Regions from separate parts of the Homo sapiens genome. Here region 1 is linked to region 2. Evidence: promoter capture Hi-C in 16 types of primary human blood cells and fetal thymus (Javierre and others, 2016). All regions are on one chromosome and are shown on one strand. Each heading gives the region's core, a stretch centred on a gene start or on the middle of the fragment in contact. The rest is flanking DNA. Distances are from core to core; before and after follow the strand shown.

Region 1 (5,357 bases), core at 1,990-4,489, 1.4 Mb after region 2:
GTCCGGAGCATTTAGGCTATCCTTCATGTGTGAATACAGTTTATATAAGTTTCTACACTCACATTTTTTAAAATTTTATAAGCTGATAGTAGTAACATACAGAAGGAATTATAACCTCCAAGTCTAGAAATTTGCAGTCTTTCAATGTTCTTTTGTGAGTGTTAGAGTTTTACAGTTTAAAATTACAGGTATGCTACAACTTTAATCAATACTTCAAATTCATATACAAGAAAGACTAGACAGTGATGATTCACTTTGTCAAAGAATGTGCCATTGAATGTCTGTAAATAGCTCATCTATGACAGAATATGGCTTCTCCATAAAATCATGGATGTCTAGTAACTGCTTTCTTCTTCTTTTTTCAATTAACAAATGGTATTGCCAATAGTATCACATTGAGTTGCTATCTTTTCTTCTGAAGATGCCAAAGCTGCCACATCTGTGACCTTTTTCCATACTTTTTCAGTGGATTTGGTAGTTTAACACCTCTTTACCACAATGTTATTTCTTTTTAGTGATAGGGGAACTGAGGGAGTAATAGACTTGTCAGCAATCACAAAACGAGATTATAGCAAAACTGGAGCTTACTCTTGATCTGTCCAACTAGGAAATGTAGTTTAAAAAAAACTTCATCCTGACTGGCCACATATAATATTTAAAAAGAAAAATAAAGAAGTAATATAGTCATTAATGGATTTTGTTTGGATTTTCTGTTGCCCTACATTGCAGAATTTAAACAAGCTTGTAAAACCGCAGAGCTAATATCTTACATTCTAAGTTAAATTCCATAAAATATAATACAGGTCTTAATAGGACATTATGTTTATTTCAGTTCGAAATGCACCCTTTACTTTTACCAAATTGCTACATTTTGCTTGAACATCAAAGGTCTTTGGAAGTCAAGGAAATCTTCATTAAAAAAAAAAAAAAGACAACATTGTTTCATAGTATATTAAACTCAAAAAGAGTATTTAATAGAAGTTTCCTTAAAAACACCTCATTATCAAGTAAGCATTTGTGCATCTCAGTCAAATTATACTTTTCTTTATAATAGTATTTATGGAATTTTATTAGCCTTAGTCCTTTCTCATTACATTTTTTTTTCCTTTTTGGGCAATACCACACAATGGTCTCACTGAAAGGGTTTATTAATATGATATTGTTCCAGAAATGGAACCCTACGAAAATCATAGTAATAAATCAAGTACTACTTATTTAGACAACTGATATTTATTTCCAGCAAATGCTTTGTGGAACCTGAAAACTATTCTCCATTTTGTATTTTTCTATTAGGTTGGTGCAAAAGTAATTGCAGTTTTTGCCATCATGTAAGTGACAAAAACCACAATTACTTTTGCACCAAACTAATAACAATTTGGTAATAAAAAACACAGAAAATAAGCATAAACTATTTCTAAACTCCAGAAAAAATTGTTGACTGGGATATAGGTAGTCCAATTCTTAATACACAACACAGGGAATGTTCAATAAATGTCACTGTCTAACTGATAGTATTAATGCTAAAGGGTTACTTCTCTTTGCCTAGGCCATTGCTTAATTTCTATGGAAAGTATTTTCTTTATCCCATAATGTTTAATGCATCATTATTATTTTAAATATAATATACCTTCATTGAAAAAAAAGAGGTTTTCTTGAGTATCTAGAGTTTACATTCCAGGATTTTCTATGAAATAATTCACCATCTGCTACTGATGAGGTTAGATAATAACTTAGGAAAATTTGGGGGTATGATGTTTACAGATGATGAAAAGATGTTGCTGTAGCAGTTTTTTATTTTCATCAGTAGAAACTGTCCTTAGTTTTTAACTGCTTTTATTCCCCTGCATTATGTTTTCTAAATGTATCTCCCATGCATCACTGCAATTTGAAATATTTGAAAAAAGTACCAGGTACAGAAGAAACAGTCAAGTTGGGGGCTCTAAGAGCAGTAATCGAGGATTCCCACAGCCTCTAGTATGGTCTCTGGGTACAGGCATGCAGCCTGGTAACTGCATTAAGACTCCTAGTCTTGAGGTTTGGGACTCCAAGGATCTCTTTATTCCAGTGAGTTAGGCTACCATCTTACTTACTAACCACTCTCTATACAGGGAGCATATGTACTTGCATATACATACTGCTTTCTATCATTTAAATTAGTTATTGAAAGGCTTTCAATTCTTTGTGGACCAACTTTTGAATTACATACTTTTTTGTTTAGATATAGCTATGCCACTTTTTGTCCTCTACGTTGATTTCCAACTTACTTGCAAAAATCAGAATTCTTATTTCTTTGTAGCAGTTTGATGTAATAAATTCTGTACATTTTTTAAGGGCAAATGTATAAAAGTAGCTAGGGCTTTTAAACTTTTGGAAAACAATATTTTCAAGAGAACTATTAAACACAAATCCTTAACCATCTAAATGACACTTTTAAAAGTTATAAATCATATGCTTTTCCTAAGATGTCTTTTAACATCTTTAGCCCCCTCCTTACCAGAAATTTAGTCCACTTCTGGATCTCTTCTAAATTATCTTTATCTTTCCTTTCATCTCATAATATATCATTTTAAGGAGAAATGGTCTTACAGATTACTTTAAGATTTTTCCTCTAAATGTACGATTTAAGAGTATCATAACGAGTAATCAAGAAGTTTATATGATAAGATAATGTAAAGGGATGAGCAGGCATATAATACTCATTTTTCCAAAAGCACCACCATCAACACTACCCATTATAACCACCTTAAACATCTGGTAAATCAATCCAAAATTAAATTAAGCTTTTATAAATTCATATTGGGTTTAACCATTTGATCTAACTTATTGATGGAAAACTGCCTCTAACAATTACTGAAATTACAGACTTAGAAATGAAACATTCCATTAGCTATCTCTGCCACAATAGCATAACGTTACATTTTGTTCCATTACTTTCGCCCAGCCCCTTAAGAAATAGGGATTTTATGTCGTCTTATTTCACATTCTGACTCCAGTCACTTGGGTTTGGAGGGCATGGTTTCCACTAAAGTTAAAAGACCTAGCTCTATAAATTACAACTAAAGACCTAAAAAATTCTCTGCAAATTTAATTCTCAAAACATCTTTTGGGATAAAAAGTATTTCTATTCTTCAAAGATTAGAGAACCGAGTTCAACGATTTACTGATTTAAGTTATCATTATGTGATTGCTAACGCTGCAGTAGATATGAAATCACGATTTCCATTAAGACTTAGATTTTACCTAAATGACGACTGCTTTAGTATGTCAAAGTTTAGGAGCCCATCCCCATTTTTTTAAACTGCTTAAAAGAATGGCCTTAGCATGCCAAAGTTTAAGAGCCCATCCCCATTTTTTTTTAACTGCTTAAAAGAATGGCCTTACCATTTTCTTTGGCCAGGAACTAACTACAAGATGATAAATTTGCCAGTACTTTCTTTTCATAGTTGTTCTTTGCATTGGAACAGGAAAGGGTGCTTTATCACTCGTTACGGTTGTTCATGGCCCAATCCAAATCATATAATACGCTGGCTGCTACTAACAGTTTTAGAATAAACAAAAAGAAGAACTATAATGCAGTAGGTTCTACATTTATAAAGCCCATGAGCTGATTTCGTGCCGAAAGTAAAACAGTCTCAAGAGTTTAAATGAATCCTGGAATCACAGCAAATTCAGGAAATTTAGGAATATGTTGGTAACCCTTAAGCTTTTTAAAAACTGACTACACCCTGGGCAAGTAACCACCCCCTGATGCCGTTGTGGGAGACAGAATTTCTGGCAGGAAGATAATTTTCTGACTCAATCTGGCTTGCCGTTCTTGTTTAATCATCCCCATTTCTCTGAACATTTTACTCCTCTGACTACAATGGTCAACATTTATTTTCAGAAGTTTTAAAGTGATTTAGTTCTTCCAGCCGCACCTCTTTTTATCCCATCTAAGTCTTCCCCAGCCCCCATTCCTATCGCCCTCGTTTCACTAAGATTTTGCTAAACATTAGACACAAGCACATGACCTCCAGTCTTCCACTGTCTCGGAACAAACCGACATAAAAACATCTGATTAGTTCCATTGTAAGCTTCCCTAGGCTTAGAATTTAAAATGGTCTTTAGCTCGTCAATGCTTAAAGAACCTACAACACAAAATTTAAATTTTAAAAATTTTAAATAAAGAAACCGCTCCCTTTTTTAACCTTTAGCCCCGCCCATTGCCCCCCACCCCAGGTTCCACGCGAAACTGCAGGAAACCGGAGGGGGCGGAGCGGTGACGTCACGACGCCGGTGCGTCACGGAACGGCGGCGGCTGCGGCGCTGGCGGTGGCTGCGGCAGCGGCGGCATTTTAGTCGGCAGCGGCGGCGGCAGCGGGGCTGCTGCTCCTCCCAGCATCCCTGGCGCGGCCATTTCAGCCCCATCTTGGCCCAGCGGAGGGAGCTGCAGCCGCCGCTTCAGCAGTTTGAATTTCAGTTTCTTCGGGGTTTAGGAATTGGGCGCACCGAGGAGGAGCCGGAGAAGCCACCACCGCTACCTCACACAGCCGGGGCGCCTCCGGTCCCGTGCCAGCGGTCTGCCGCCGCCGCCCCTCTCTGAGAGAAGCCGCGAGGGGAGGCCGAGACCGCCGTCGCCGCCCGCCCGCAGGGGTGGTTCCCCCTGTAAGGGGAGGACCGAGCCGGCTTTCCCCTCCCCCAGAGCGGGTTTCCGCCTGAGGCAGTCGACATGTCCCTGGGGCTGAGCTCCGGCTAGAGCCGGGGAGGGAGGGCCGCCTGCCCGCGCCACAGCCCCACCGCCCGCCCGCGGACCTTCAGCCAGCTCCGGCCCGCGGCTCCCGGCTGAATTAGGCATCTCCGACTCCGGACTCGCCGCTCCTTCCCTCAGTCAGAGAGCCCAGCGCTGACGCCGGCACCGGCCTGAGGAGCCCGAGCGGGGCAGCACCGCCCCTCACGCCGCCGCCACCGCCTCCTCCTCCTCCTCTTCGCCCTCCCACTCCCACCCCCAGCCAAGGCCTGCTGACCGCGCCGAGCGCCGAGCTGGACTGACCACGGCTGCCCGGAGACGAGAGAGGAAGCAGCCGGCCCGCCCCTGGGTTCGCGCTCTCGCCGCCTCTGAGGGAATTGAATTGAGGCGCCGCGGCTGCGAGAGCTAAAAAGGAAGGAGGAGCCGCCGCGGGACTGAGACGGGGGCAGAGCCGAAGAGACCGACACAGAGAAGGAAACGAGGAGGAGGATGTCTCACCGGGCGGCCAGCGCCTGGATCAGCCCGTGACTCTTAACAGCGGCGGGCCTCAGACCCCAGCGCAGACTCGGACTTTGTCTTTGGGGGCCCGTGCTCTGCCCTCCCCGGTTTCCGACAGGACCCAGAGGAGCCG
Region 2 (5,081 bases), core at 1,937-4,436:
CTGAATTTTACACAATGTGAGTTATGTAACAATAAGGATTAAAAAAAAAAGCTATGTAACCAGCCATCAGGCTACTGCAACTTTTGGAGTTTGGGACTCTAGCTTTCAAGTGAAGAACGGACTACTTTGGGCCTCCAAGGATATTATTTCTTGAAACCAAACTTTTGCTTGATATTGTGATTACCGACAACAATCCCAGGTACAGATTGTGTATGTTATCAATTAAGGGCAAAATTTTAAGTTAGTTGACTAGTTAGTTCCTGTGTCTGGCCAGATGTGGTATATGTATTTCACAAACTTTCCGTGGGAACCATTTGATTCTCAGGCGAGTAGGTTGCCCTCTGCTCCGGAATATATTTCCAGGTCAGTTGCCCCCACCATCAATTAGTGTGTGTGCTCAAAAGAATGCAAACTGATTTCAGCATTATCTTAAACAAAACTTAATTAGGAAGGTAAGTATCCTGCCAAAAAAATTACATAATGCATTACAAAGCCAATTTAAAATGAATTTTGGACCATTCCGAATATATGAATTCAGCATAGGTTTAAATGGTTAATAGTCATGCCTACTGATGTAGGGTATAACTTATCTTTTTTAACTTAAATCTTTCTTTTAGGATTCTGTAATTTTACTAGTTCAAGTTTCACAAGAAAAAAAATAACAAGCTAAAATCTGAAACATTTGCCTCACTATACCATGTTTATCCACTACCTCTAAGGCCTTACAATCCAAAATGTTTGAACACCTCACTATTCAAAGTGTGGGTCCATAGCCTGGGGATCACCTGGGAGACCCACCCCCAAACTACTGAGTCAGAATCCGCATTTTAATAAGATCCTTGGGCAATCTGTGTGCGCATTAAAGTTTGAGAGGTCTTGCTCTCACACCAGACTGAAGCTCACTGCAGGGCAGCCTCAGGAAAAGTAGGCAGTGGGGTCATTATGATCTATATTAAGACAATGAAGAAGAACAGATTGTAGCAACCTCAAAATGTCCCTATTTGATTCAAAGTGGTAAAAGCTGTAAACTTTCTATTTGTGTAAATATACATGAAGCTCAGGAAGGGAAGCTGTGGTAACCGTTCCTTTTACTTAAACGTCCTGGGAGTTGCAGCAGAGAGGAGCTTGTTCTAAGGGAAGCTTTTCTGTTTTTCCCAGTTGTCCCCAGTTCTACCTCCTGGCTTTGCCCTTTCAGCCCCATCACCACATCCCTGGCTAAGTCCAGCCTGAGATAGTAGGCTGCAAGAAGTAGATGGTTAAGGGTCAGCTGATGGCAGGAGGGTTCTGGGTGAAAGATGGAAATCTCACTCTTCCAAGTTCACCTCTCAGTCTGCAAAAGAGCAATCAGACTGAGAAGTACCTCTCTTTGTTTTCCCTCTCCCCACTTAAGATACAAAAGTGTAGCCTTTGTGTTCCTTAAAGAGCTCCAACTCTTCTATGTCTATATCTTTTGAATAAGTGGAAACCCATCTATTGCCCTTTCCACTTTTCTGTTTCCTACAACGGAAGCACATAATGCCAAGTAACTGGGAGGGCCTCCCATGTGATCAGCGGTCTCTAGGCCATGGTCAAGACTAGGAAGGACTCAAGAGAGGCTCCTGGAAGGTGATATTTAAAATACTGATTTTAAGGTTCTACCCTTAAGATTCTTTTTGTTTTGTAACCTGTTTTTCTTCAAATAATATATTTTGAACAGCTTTTTATATTAAAAATATATAATGATTATGCCTACAGAGTATTTCATTACCTCAAGAGTATATGACGCGACTTCAAAAAGTCCATAGAATATACATATTATAAAAAAAAAATGCATGGATTTCAAAATTATTTTGCACCAAAATAAACCTACCCTTAAGATTCTGATTCAGGAGGTCTGGGCTTAGGCCCAAAAATCTACGCTTTAACCAGTGCCCCCAAGTGATTCTGATGTAGGAGATCCACACCCACACACGAGGAAACAGTGATATAACTGGTTTGAGGACAGCAGTACCACCTTTGCAAATAAATCACTTATTCTTAAGCATCTGTTTTGCTTTTTGAACTGATGTCAACTTCCTGATTGGTTTCCAAATGGCTTTGCAGTACTCATTCAACATTTACCGAGCAATTTCAGTTTTCAGTTTGCAGAGAACTGAACTACCCGAGGCTTGTTCTGTGTTTGGACTGGGGATGGGGAGCAGAGAAGGATGTGATCACATTAAAGCTATTTCTCAACTTCCTAGAAAAATGACAAATTGACCATTTCAAGATTTGTGAAACAGGTTAGCATTGGCTAACCACAGTTACAATAATTTACTAACCTTTTTGGAGCCCCTGTGTACAAGAGGCACCAAGACTTTCTGGGTGGGAAGGTTGATTCTGTAACCAAACTGCCAGGGTTTAAATCCTACTTTCTCCATTTATATTATATGACTATAGAAAAGTTAGCACTTTGGGAGGCTAAGGCTGGCAGATCACTTGAGGCCAGGAGTTCCAGACCAGGCTGGCCAACATGGTGAAACTCTGTCTCTACTAAAAATACAAGAAAAAAAAGAAAAGAAAAGTTAATTTAACTTTTCTGAGCTCAGTTTCCTCCTCGTCTGTAAAATGAATATGTAACACCTCACTGAGTTCGTACAAGGATTAAATGAAGCACTTAAATGCCTAATTGATGCAGATGGCTCCAAGAATTTAACATTTACGAAATATTCACTATATTTTTTAGGTTAAGGGTACAAAACCATTGTGAGTACACTAAGGAATGATTATAGAGGCTGATCGAAATTCTGCAAAAAAAGCGTAAATTTTACGTTTCATTCAAGCAGTTCAGACTCACGATTTTAACTAGAGTAATCTGGGGTTTGTTTGCTTGTTTTTTAAGGTTCCCTAACCCTTGGCTTCTTGGGGAGTTTGATGCCGCACTCAGCCCCAAAGTCCCCCTTAACTCCCAGGTTTAGCGGCGACAGGGGGCGCGCGGTTGACAAGGGCAGGCGCCCCGGGGAAGTAGGAGCAGGGGCGCCGGTGAGCCGCAGCCGCAGCGGCAGCCTAGCCCCGAGGGAGGGAGGAGGAGCCGAGGGAGACGCGGGACCCGGAGCCCCGCGGGCCACCGCCCCTGCCGGCCGCGCAGCTGGGAGGATGCGGACGGCAGCGAGAGCGTGCGCGGCCACGTGACGGCCGCTATAAGAGCGCACGGGGCAGACGCTCGGTTCCCCGCCGTGCCTCCTCGCTGGCCGCGCTCCCTCCCGGTGCCGGCTTCTCTGAGTCACCAACCTGAGGCTGCCCCGGCCGCCTGCGCACCCGGCAGCACCATGACAGGTACCGCCGCGCAGCCCGCCGCCGCCAGCCCCGGGACCCCGGCTTCCTGCCCAGCCGCCGCCTCCCTTCTCCTCCGCCCTCAGCCCCGGAGTGTTCCCGGCAGGACGAAACCGCCGCAAAGTTGCTGGCTGGCCGCAGCCGGGCGTGTTTCTGCCTGCGTCAGCTGCCGCCCCGCCGCCCCCCAGAGTGCAGGGATGGGGCAGCCGGGCAGAGCCCGGGCCCTCGGCCGGAGCTCTCGTTCCTGCTTCCGTCTCCTCGTCCTTCCTCTTGCTCTCACGGCGAAGGGCCGGCGGGCGGAGCAGCTGCGGCGGGGCCGTGTGGGGGTGGGGAGCCGGTTCCCCTGGGGGTTCCAGGCGGGAGTCCGGGGCGCAGCGGCATCGTGGGGAGCTGCCCCGGCCTCTGGCGGCCCGGAACCCCAGGAAGCAGGGGCTCCGAGGCGGGGATACTGCGGCCTCCGCCCGGCTCCTCCGCCGCCCGCCCCGGCCCCGGCCGCCACGCTGAGCCTATTTTTAGGCCTTTGGGGCCGGGTTGCGGGAAGCCGGGAGTCGGACTAGCGTCCCCGGGCGCGAGCCCCGTCTGGTGGGAGGGCGCCGGCTTTGGCTTCACTTGTTGCGAGGCGTCCGGGCCACTCCACGAGTTAGCCCCAGCACTGGGAAGCTCCGAGTTAGCTGGTCCTTCCGTGTCATTGAGGCTAATAGCCAGGGTTATTACAGCAGTTGAACTGCCACAAAGATTGCAGGTGTAACCCAGAGTTCAGCCGTCTTTAGGAAGATTAAACTCCTACCCAGCTGTCATTGGTCTTTCTTGGTCATTTGTAATGTTGGCTAGTCTGGTGTTCTAACCTGTGTTCTATCCCTTATTTAATCTTGGAAATCATCCATATCCTTGCTTCCAGAAATCCTTGAATCCTGCTCACCTTATTACATTTTTCTCCATGATCGCCTGGAACCTGGACTTCATTTGAGTTAGATGATCATTCATTTTGCCTAGCTTAAGTATTTTTGGTACAGATTGACAGCGATGTTACCCATGTTATAATGGGCTGAAGATAATAGAAGCAAGTACAGGCGGATGTTGATGGGCCTGTCAAGGGACAGGTGCCACTGTTCAGAGCTTTCCTAGAGTGTGAGTGACTGGGAAGCTGGTGGCCCTTCGGGGGTGGGGAACTGGTCTTCCTACAACTTAGTAGTTGGCCTGCCGTGGGAGAGGGCCTAATAAAATGTGTGAAGATGGCTCTCAGGTCAGCAGCCGAGGGATGCGCTGGCCCACTAGGCAACCCACAACTTCCTCTCATGTCTCGGTGGAATTTCTACTGCTTCCAGCCTCCACCTTGGAAAACGGGCAAGGGAGAATGAGGGAAAGCCAGGTCAGAAAGAGAAGGACTTCATGACAAAATGTCCCAACTCGCTGGTTAAGCAACTGACTCCTACCAGAACTTGATCCGAAGTGTCCTATGCATTTGGATGCCCACCAACTTGCTAATGTTTCTTGGAGATGGAACATGGCCCAGAATTGTCCCAGGGAATGACTGGAGAAATCTTGAAGCCTGTGCTAGGGGTCTTGGGAGGGTGGGGACTGTTCAGCAGGAGGAAAAATCCATGTATTTACCTTCTCTTCTGGCAACTAAGTGATTATTGGAGATTGGGGTGCGTGTCTGTTGGTTTGGGCGGGGGGAGGGGGAGGGTGCAGGATGGACCTGCACCTTCTTCTCCAAAGAAAAGCAGGCAGTTGTTTAGGGCTTCTTGGGTGATCTCCAAATCTATTTATCAGTGATTGATAACTATTTA

Evidence for each region. Contacts are between HindIII fragments. The CHiCAGO score rates a contact against its expected background, and 5 or more counts as called.
Region 1: a fragment that was not itself captured here is called in contact with the fragment with the promoter of GYG1 in region 2 in 1 of 17 cell types (naive CD8 T cells); the score reaches 6.1 in naive CD8 T cells.

What each region holds. Positions count from the first base shown.
Region 1 is chr3:150,403,962-150,409,318 of GRCh38, forward strand. TSC22D2 (TSC22 domain family member 2) reads left to right here and starts at 4,337. Exons shown (of 3, transcript NM_001303264.2): 1 at 4,337-5,357. RefSeq lists a silencer at 4,428-5,027. The HindIII fragment of the contact is 923 bases long and covers 2,779-3,701 here.
Region 2 is chr3:148,988,354-148,993,434 of GRCh38, forward strand. GYG1 (glycogenin 1) reads left to right here and starts at 3,187. Exons shown (of 8, transcript NM_004130.4): 1 at 3,187-3,294. The coding sequence starts at 3,288. RefSeq lists silencers at 2,826-3,875, 3,909-4,203. The HindIII fragment of the contact is 9,660 bases long and covers 1,139-5,081 here.